Regions from separate parts of the Homo sapiens genome. Here all the other regions are linked to region 1. The links are contacts of gene promoters, found by promoter capture Hi-C in blood cells and fetal thymus (Javierre and others, 2016). All regions are on one chromosome and are shown on one strand. The core of a region is centred on a gene start or on the middle of the fragment in contact, and the rest is flanking DNA. Distances in the headings are between cores, read along the strand shown. Region 1 holds the start of CPVL-AS1 (CPVL antisense RNA 1). Region 2 has its middle 36 kb from the start of TRIL. Region 3 overlaps TRIL (TLR4 interactor with leucine rich repeats).

Region 1 (3,315 bases), core at 586-3,085:
TTCTCTTCTAAACTCTTAATTTTCTCACACTCTTAGGAAAGCTGAATAGTGCTGCTGAGTTTGTAGAGCCATCTTCAAAAAATAAATGCACAAATTCAGAAATGGTTTTCTGCTTTTCAATGTAAATGCACCAGACCTAAATATCTTCACATTTGTGTGCTATGAATGAGAGGAGCCTGATGCTCAAGGGGTCTGGAGCAGCTGTTCAGAACCTTGATTTGGTGTGAAGCAGTCTGGAAATAATAATAGTACCTACTGCATAGGGTTGTTTTGAGCATTTAATTAGATAACCCTCCTCAGATATTAGCATAGTGACTGGCTGTGGTGAGTACCCAACACATGATGACTATTATTACCATTCATGCTGAAAAGCTGGGCTAATATATTATGACTCCCAAGCATACAGCCTAATGCCTGGAGACAAGAGCTGAAGTGTTAATAGAAGCTCCGCTAACTCATTGCTGGGATATGGCATTTCCCCCTCTACTCTGTGTCTATTATTTTGAAATCATTTTTAAAAGCAATAGTTACTTTGTCTAAAAAAAAATGGAGCTTAGCAGTTGACATTAGAAGTTGTGCTTGTTTTTTATATGGACAGCAGCAAAATGTGTCAGGACCCACCCCAGGCTCCCTGCCTCACCGTGTGGACGATGGTGTGGCCACACCAGAGAAAGTGGCGTGGGCCTGCCCTCAGTGCAAAGGAAAGGGGAGAAGCTGCTTTGTCTTCTTCCTCCTCCTCTTCATTTCTGCCCAGAACACCAACTGGAATTAATTTTCTCTAAAAAGAGACAAATGTGTCTGTAAATCACCCTCCTCAAGGCATGAAAAAAACATACTTCAAAAAGAGAAATAAGCTGTGTTTAATTCCCATAATTAACTTTCTTTATAAGTGTTATCCTTTCTGAGCCAGTAGCTATTAGTGAGATTGCCCTTGTTCTTGAGGCACGGACACATTTAGCATCCTCTCAATTGTACATGAGCCCAGGTAGAAGTTAAAGCAAAACAGCCCTCACGGGAAGGCAGGTAGGTGACAGGATCAGGGGGACCGCCCATTGTTCTCTGAGCCTGTGGCTTTATGTGCCGCTCAAGGGAAAGAGTCAGTGCACGTGGGAGGTTGTGGCAGTGGATGGGAACGCTTCCAAACTAGCAGGGCATGTGGTTAAAACAGAACATCTCTTCTCCATCAGCAAAAACGGGCAGACTCTCTTTATAAACAGTTTTGCAACCATAATTTATTTGAGAACCCAATAGAGACAAAACTTTGAAGCTATTTAAAAATGAATTAGGGAGCTTAATGGGACACTTTATCTTCATCTGCATGGGTGAAGTCCCTGTTGGAAGTACAGTGTCTGACAACCTTTATTGAAATCATCATGGCCCATTGGGTTAGGTGGCAAGCTCCCAGTATGCGAGAGCCATGTTTGTTTCTTATTCAATACTAAGCACGGTGCTTAATGAATATTATAGAATGGAGTTCATGCATGGCTGCCTTTAGATAAAATAAAAATATTGATATTTATTTCCTGCATCTTTTCACCTACTTTTTTTTTTTTTTTTTTTTGAGACAAAGTGTCACTCTGATGCCTAAGCTGGAGTGCAGCATTGCCATCTCAGCTCACTGCACCCTCCAATTCCCGGGTTCAGGTGATTCTCCTGCCTCAGCCTCCCGAGTAGCTGGGATTACAGGCACGTGCCACCATGCCCGCCTAATTTTTGTATTTTTAGTAGAGATGGGGTTTCACTATGTTGGACAGGCTGGCCTTGAACTCCTGACTGGGTGATCTGCCTACCTCAGTCTCCCAAAGTGCTGAGATTACAGATGTAAGCCACTGCGCCCAGCCCCTTTCTTTTTTTAAAATTTTTATTTTAGGTTTGGGTGTACATGTGAAGGTTTGTTACATAGACAAACACGTGTCATAGGGGTTTGTTGTACATATTATTACATCACCCAGGTATTAAGCTCAGTACCCAATAGTGATCTTTTCTGCTCCTCTCGCCTCCCTTTCATTGCCCTTCTCTCCCTGTACTATGTCCCAGGCCCTGGGGACTCTCCTTTGGCCTCCGTTGTTTTCCAGGGCCATCTTCCCACCTCAGCCATCCTCTCCTCAGTCTATTGTGCACAGCTTCTATTTCTCCATGCTTCTTCCATCTGTATCATGATTGTTCTGTTTCTGTCCCCCATTCTGACTTGTTGTCAACTCATTGTTCCATAGAAAGGATCTGATAAATTAAACCCAATAGGGTGGACTCTCAACATGTTTGCATTTGAGTAGAGAGCAGAGCCTACCTGATGGGTAGATATTTGTAATAGGGTAATTTCAAGCACTAACATGCAAACAGAAGGGTGGCAACCAAGGTGGGGTGGGAGAGCGATTCTAGAAGTAGGCTTATAATTATTAGCATTCTATGTAAGCCTGTACCATCATCCTGTTAGCCTGGGCTTGGGATCATGTAATTTGATGGCTAGAAGTGATACTTCAAGAACATCTAGTTCATGTATTTTATCTGTAGATTTTACTAGAGAATATTTATTGAGAATGGACTGTATGGTAGACATCATGCTAAGCACTGTTTTATGCATTACCTCGTTTAATCCTAACAGCTGCCTTATGAAATAGGTGCTATGATTATTCTTCCCATTTTACAGGTGAGGTGACCGAGGCTTAGTGAGGTTAGGTATGCCTTACCAAGGTCACCCAGCCAGAAAGTGGAGGAGCCAGCATTGGAACCTAAGCAGTCAGACTCCAGGGCCTGAAGATGGTGGTGAAGAAATGAGCTAGTGGTGCAGCCTTGTTCACCAAAATGCTTGTTCACCAAACTGGGTGCTCTCACCTTGAACTTGCACTGTCTCTAGGACCTGCTTCAGATTCACTTTGTGTCTGAAGGGGAGTCAAACATCCCCTTCCATATTTTATGCTGAATCTCTAAGGTTATTAACCTTACACAAACAGAAAAGAAGTTCTCTAGCTTCTTGAATGTCTCTGTCTTTCTGGCCAAGACTGTTTTAATCATAAAGACTTGGCTTTGATCATTAAGTTTTATAGAGTAAGTGGAAGTTTCAAGTGATATAAGGACTTGAAGTCTTTGGAATGCAATTATTTCTCAAGGCTTGGAACTTGCTGAATTTTATTAGATAGCATTCAAGCTGTTTTAACTCTTGAACCTATGACAAATCTCTATTTTCAGTTATGTTCATCTGCACTTGCCAATATTTTCTTTTTGAATTGAAAATGGATTTGTGACTATTTAATGATTTTAATATTACAAAAATCAGGGTTTAAGCTGCAACCGAAGAACTGAACAAGGGCATATGGA
Region 2 (3,315 bases), core at 504-3,003, 160 kb after region 1:
GTTATGTGTGTGTCTCTTTGCATTTGTCTCATCCCTTCCCTTCCCTTCACTGTTGACTACAAGAGACATTGGAAATCATTGAAAAATCCATTCCCTAGTTAATGTTCCCCGGCTTGCCTTTTATACTATCTGTCGGATCCAATCCATCATGTATGTAATCATATTTTACATTGGCTGCTCTATGAATAAGAAATGAGTGGAGGGTGTTTTGTTTTCTACCTCTTCCCTATCATGAGGGACTAGGTACAGGATGCAGATTTCAGCTCTACAGCTGAAGGGCGCAGATAGTAAATCATTTTACATGCCTAGGATGGAAGACAAGCTCCTTGGGGATTCTGTGATGGTGGTGGAAGAGGGGCCTTCTTCCTGATCAGCACTTTGGGTGCCAGCCTGCTCTGGTCAATGGGAAAGAATGGAAACCTTAGAATTCAACCATATCTGCCTGGGCCTGGGGTGGGATGAACTAAAAAACCAGAGCCTCAAGGTGGCTTGGGTAAAGTGCCTACTGGAATTTACACTTTCTCACAAGCATCAGAGAGATGTTAGGACACAAAAAACTCTTTTGTGCTGCAGAAGATTTTGCAATCTTTGGGTGCCAGGAAAGGTTTCAGTTTCCTTAGCTGTAAAATAGAGATCAAAGCCCCCTTGCTTGCTTCACTGGATCATGTGGAGAACAAAATATAAGCATGAAAGTGAAAACACCTCGCACATCTAGGGAGAGCTTGCAGTATTGCTATGAAAAGTGGTAGCATAAATTAACAGCATGAAGCATTTATGTATCATTTCTCCAACAACCCACTTTTCAGCAATGATTTCCTCACATTTGCATTTTGGTGCTGTTTTGTTGTTTAGATACGAATTAATGCTAAATGTTAAACTCTACTGGGTTCTCTCATTCAAATTGGAGTAACACAGGGAAGGCAATTCTTGTATTCATGGTCTTCTGTTTTCAGGGGGCCGTGGTCTCCTGCAAAGTGCTAAAGCCTCTCTCAAGTATGATGAAACAGCGCCACCGTGTGGTCTCGAGGCTTACCATCATTCACTCATTTGCCTTTGGATTTTTACGGAGCATTGGTCAATAAACATCAGAATATGTGTAAATGCATATTGAAATAATGGAAATTGAGGTAAATTTGGTGGAATCCTCCCATAGCTGTATTTGTGAGCACTTATTAGAGAAAGTATCCATTCATCATTGGCATGGACATGCTTGAATAAGGTTTGTGAGTGACAACAAGCTTAATATTGTCCAAAAGTCTATCTTGGCGATGGTGGTAACTAAAAAATGCATTTTTCCAGAATATCTCCCTCCATTCTCTGATGAAAGAGTCTATATAATGTGTGTATTTCATGAAATGCATTTTATTGTATGCGGAGGGGGAGAGAGAGGTATATAAGGCAACATATATTTAACAGAAAATAAGAATGAAAAATTGTAAAAGTCTTCTTGGCTAGGGCCACTCATTTATCCTGAAGTTAATCAAGCAACCAAGACCAAAGCACTTTGGGGAGCGGCGTGGTAACTATGCATTGGACTGTTACTAAATAGATGAGCCTTTGCCAGGAAATATTTGTTAGGGATAATAGCACAGCAAGGAATGGTTCTCTTCTTTTTAAAATGGCTTATGAATGACAATAACAATAATAACTTACTGTGTTTATTTAGCCAGGCACTGTCTGAAGCACTTTGCCTGCATTGTTCCGTATATTAATTGGAGAGGAGTTCAGTAATGGCCATTTTAAAAATATAATCTAATTTTAAAAAATGCTAGCCAATGTAAGCAGACACACATTCGAGATAAGAGCTAAGCCAGTGTCATTGGCGCTAGACTCAATAGCTCTGAATGCGCTGGGTGGTTGATTCCCTCTGGTGGCCATTCTGGGAATTTACAGATGTAATGCAAATGTCACACAGTACTATAATAATCACAAGCACTGGGATACATATTGGTGAATGCAGTCCTGTCCAGGGAACATGAAGCCACTGGGATGTGACTGTTAGAGTATGACCATCTTTGTTCTTATTACGTTCCTGCTGTAGATGAAAGAGAGAGTAAGTGAATGATCCACTGATGTGCTAGGATTCAATATGGAATGTGGACAGGAGCATACAAAATGATGGGCGTTAATAAGGGGCTAACATGCCACTCTCTGTTTTCCCCTTCAGCTCTGAAATCAAATGGGAGAAAACATTGAAAATGTTAAATAACCGAATGGGTAAGTAAATTGTGTTGTATCCACTGGATCCATTTGAAATAGAAAGCTTCTTTTTATAATATACATTACATCAATGCTCAAGCATTTGTATGTATCTATACATAGAAAAGATCTAGAAGGATAGTTACCAAGTTGCTAACAATCGTAACCTCTGGGGATTAAGGTGAGGACAGGGCAAGAGGATGAAGACTTTTGTCTTTTACTTTATCATTCATTTATTAACACAAACTTGTATTTCTTTTATAATGAAACAATCAAAGTAAACAAATTATAAGAACCAAATATATGCCCCTCTGAAATGTAACATGCCCTGAAAATGTGATAAGTGGGTTAGGGAAATGTTGTAATTCATCTTACGTTTTAGAACTTCACAATATATAGCTTTAAATATTAGCAATCATAGAGCCCCTCTAAAACAGAGTACTCTAAAAGTTTTAGTAGAATTTGTATTAATTCCCTGATATTTTTCTTGCTTTTGAACTTATGAAATGGAGGAGCTTACTTGACCACAGATCTAAAATATTTTCGTTACTTGCTGAGGAGTGTGTGAGCCACCAGTTAAGGCAAGAAATTTGGAATTCTGCTTCCAAGTTCCAATTTAGCTATTCCTTTATTTGTTGATCTTATTTAAAAAAATGTCTTTTCCTGCAAAGCCAATCCAAAAAGGCACATAGTGTTTTGTACACCACAATTATTAAAAATCACTCTGATTCCATGTATGTATATTAGAACTTTGAATCAAAACATTTAAGGTGGTTTTGGAAATCTATATCTAATGTTTAAAATAACATGATATAAAATAGACATTGGTTTTGGGGTGCGGGATAAGGAAAAGGGAGGAAAGGAAAGTGTAGGGACATGAAATGGGGCCAGACGTGAGATGAGTCCACAACATACACTAATGAAAATGAAGTTCTGCAAAACTTTTGGTAAGGGTGAATCATAGATTTGGTTTGCAGTTTACTAGCAATTCAAAGAAACAGGGTAAGCTCCAGGAGTCGCAGGCCCACAAGGCATAGATGAGTCGATTGTTAAGGAGGAACAACAGCTACTGGGCTACTAAGACAAGAAAAAATTGTCTCCTGCTTGACTGGGTTC
Region 3 (3,315 bases), core at 438-2,937, 130 kb after region 1:
TTCAAATGAGTAAATGTCCAGACCACTTAAAACTACAGCTGCTTTTCTGGCAGTCTCGTCTGCGGGGCCAAAACTTAATAAACCACAGGAAATAGACTGTCATTCTTAGTTTGCTGCCAGGGCTTATTTTAGATTGAGAGCATACTGGTACATGAGAGCAGTAGTGTTGTTTGCTCTTATTTTCAACCAGGGAGCTATCTGGCACCTTTTGTGCTCCTGGCTTTTTTCAATCATAGCACTATTGCATCTCCTAGCTATTTCTTTTGCCCAGCAGGGTAATATTGAGTCCCATTGCAAGTATGGACAAGGCCTCTGGTTCTCCTCACCACCCACCTTTTCAGCCATAGAACATCACTGAAAATGCCTAATGCCTGGATCTGTGTTCTACTTTAGTTTCACTGGGAAGTCTTTCAGTGGGAGATGAATAAATGTTATACATTGTTATGTCCAGTTATGTCAATAAACCCACTAATAGAGATAATTTGTTGGAGTTTCCAAATATTTTATACACTTTCATAATGACACAATGCAGTTCCCATTTATGGAAATGAAACATAAGCTTGATGTCTTTCTGTCCTTTTTAATGTTTTTTATTTCCGTTTTCATAGGTGAGTATGGACTTTAAGAAAAGGATGTGTGATGTTATGTGCAAAGAAACAATGAAATGGCTCTAAAAGCAGATGGTCAGCCACAGCATGAAAGTGCTGTTGGACACCAGTGACATCAAGGTGCAGGTGATCGGGTCTCAGCAGGCATTGCCTGTTTAAAGGAAACTGATGAAAAGTCAAGCCCTTTGGCTCTCATGGTCAAAAATATGAAGGAATTATCTTGAGCTGGAAGTAATTTTTGATTTTTGTCACTACACAGCTTATGAAAAGATAACATTCCTAAGGAAAAAAGAATAAACTTGGTATGAGTTAGGAGTATTCAGTGAAAGAGCCACTGGCCAGTCTGTAATGTTGTGGGACCTTCAGGTCAACCAATGGGATTACTGCTTCCATAATGCAGGGGATTTTGCAGGGCTACCAGGTAATAAATAATTAGCATGTGATCAGAACACCTTCACTAAATTGTCACACACCTGATTGTCACCAAAACTACAGCAACATATATGAAACCATTAAAAGAGAGAACTGAATTGCCTGTTATTTGTGTTTAAGCACTCCCTCCTGTTCTTATAAGACTGGAAGGTAAATGGTGATGAAGCATATTAGTGCTAGAAGTTTATTCCCAATTCCAGACCATGGCCTAGTATCAATATTGTCACCATCCTCAGAAAGTATAGCATCATGAAAGTTGGGAATGATGGTAAGGAAGTGATGAAGGCACTTAGTCATTAGAGGGTTGCATTCATTCTTTTTACCTAATTTCTACCTCAGCTTCCTCATCAGTTAAAATGAGCAGCCTAAGAATCCTGATTGCATAGTGCTATTGTGAGGCATAAATGGGTAAGTAGCATTCAACAACGCCAGATACACCACAGATGTTCAGTAAATATGAGATGTAGCAGTGGTAGTAGTATTTACACAGGGCAACAAATTGTTTGATTAAGAAGTTTCAGACACAAGGCATTTCTGCTTAAGCCATAACCAATCAGAGGATTCAGGTAATGGAATTATGGTAACCCTTCTCCTCCTCTTTTTCTAGTTAATTGAAACATTTGTGTAATTCTTTTGAAAAGTGTCTGTGCATGTCCTTTGCCCACTTTTTAATGGGGTTGTTTGTTTTTCTCTTATAAATTTAAGTTCCTTACAGATGCTTTGTCAGATGCACAGTTTGCAAATATTTTCTCCCATTCAATGGTAGCTTGTCTGTTGACTCTGTTGATAGTTTCTTTTGCTGTACAGCAGCTCTTAAGTTTAATTAGATCCCATTTGTCAATTTTTGCTTTTGTTGCCGTTGTTTTTGGTGTCTTTGTCATGAAATCTGTGCCCACGCCTATGTATGGGATGGTATTGCTTAGGTTATCTTCCAGCATTTTATAGTTTTGGGTTTTACATCTCAGTCTTCAATCCATCTTGAGTAGATTTTTATGTATGGCATAAGGAAGGGGTCCAGTTTCAATCTTCTGCATATGGCTGCCTGGTTATCCCAGCACCATTTATTGAATAGGGAGTCTTTCCCCCCTTGCTTGTTTTTGTCAGCTTTGTCAAAGATCAGATAGTTGTAGATGTGCAGCCTTATTTCTTAGCTCTCTATTCTGTTCCATTAGTCTATGTGCCCTTTGTTGTACCAGTGCCATGCTGTTTTGGTTACTGTAGCCTCGCATAGTGCAAAGTCGGGTAACGTGATGCCTCCACCTTGGTTCTTTTTGCTTAGGATTGCCTTGGCAATTTGCCTTCCCATTAACTTATAGATAGTATCTTCAAGTGTCCCTTTATTTAGTTTACTTAAAACAATACTTTGCATGCACAAATACTTTTTTTCCTAGGGATTTCAAGTCACTTCATCCTTTTCAGTCATGTGGCAAATAGTATTCTTTTCATTTTGCATGGGGAGACTGAGGTATTTGGAGATTATGCTTAACTATTTTAATTACTGAAATAATTAGGAAAGAACGTATAGTTTCCTGATACCTGCTTGCTTTATCTTAGGGCAGAGTATCTAAATATTCCATTACAACTGTTGGAAAGATTTTTAAGTTACAGGTGGTGAGATTTCTAATTGACACAGAACTGTGAGTGGCTTTATAACTTGGCTGTGAAATGGTATCAGATGCTAGAGGGAAATAAATTGTCATGCCCCAGTATTTCAAGCAACAGCATCTTTCAACTATGTAAATCCACAAAATTTCTTTCAAACTAATGAAAGCTTTATAATGCTAGCTCTGTGCCATAGTTAATGCCGACAGGACAGCCCTGTTGCATATTAAGACCAGCTGTGGCCATGTAGCAGGCTTCAGTTTACCAAATTACAGTTTTTTTGGTTAAGTAATTCTTACCCCACAGCTGATTTCACACTCGGCTCTTAGTATATGGGTACTGAAGTGTGTGGAAACACACTTTGAATGGTGGCCTCCATCCTCTTATTCCGTTCTCTCCTAACTCTTGTGTCCTTCTAAGGATTGTTACTTTAGGAAATTAAAATAATTACAAATTAAAACAAATACCCATATTAGCACCACTCAGTAATAGTTAACATTTTGTAATGTTTGTTTTCAGTCTTAAATGTCTCTATTGACAAATACCTTTGGTTTCCTTCTCCACACCTTGTCCTCAAAGCCAACTACCATTGTGACTTGGATGTGTTTCCTTCTAGTCCATGTTGAAATGCAGTTGATTCTTTTATTCACAGTAAAGTCACCACAAACACTGG

What was found. The method cuts DNA at HindIII sites, captures the fragments that hold promoters and counts their contacts. A CHiCAGO score of 5 or more calls a contact.
Region 2: a contact is called between a fragment that was not itself captured here and the fragment with the promoter of CPVL-AS1 in region 1, in 4 of 17 cell types (megakaryocytes, erythroblasts, total CD8 T cells and 1 more). The highest score is 6.7, in megakaryocytes.
Region 3: a fragment that was not itself captured here is called in contact with the fragment with the promoter of CPVL-AS1 in region 1 in 2 of 17 cell types (endothelial precursors and M1 macrophages); the score reaches 6.2 in endothelial precursors.

The regions. Positions count from the first base shown.
Region 1 is chr7:29,078,804-29,082,118 of GRCh38, reverse strand. It overlaps CPVL-AS1 (CPVL antisense RNA 1), which reads right to left and starts at 1,835. Exons shown (of 3, transcript XR_001744918.2): 1 at 1,791-1,835; 2 at 641-778. All of the region lies in intron 7 of CPVL (carboxypeptidase vitellogenic like), which reads left to right. The HindIII fragment of the contact is 9,422 bases long and covers 1-3,315 here.
Region 2 is chr7:28,920,513-28,923,827 of GRCh38, reverse strand. No RefSeq gene overlaps it. Among named protein-coding and RNA genes, the nearest start is that of TRIL, 36 kb to the left of the region's middle. The HindIII fragment of the contact is 1,025 bases long and covers 1,241-2,265 here.
Region 3 is chr7:28,950,524-28,953,838 of GRCh38, reverse strand. TRIL (TLR4 interactor with leucine rich repeats) reads left to right here. Exons shown (of 1, transcript NM_014817.4): 1 at 1-481. Among named protein-coding and RNA genes, the nearest start is that of TRIL, 6.1 kb to the left of the region's middle. The HindIII fragment of the contact is 2,252 bases long and covers 562-2,813 here.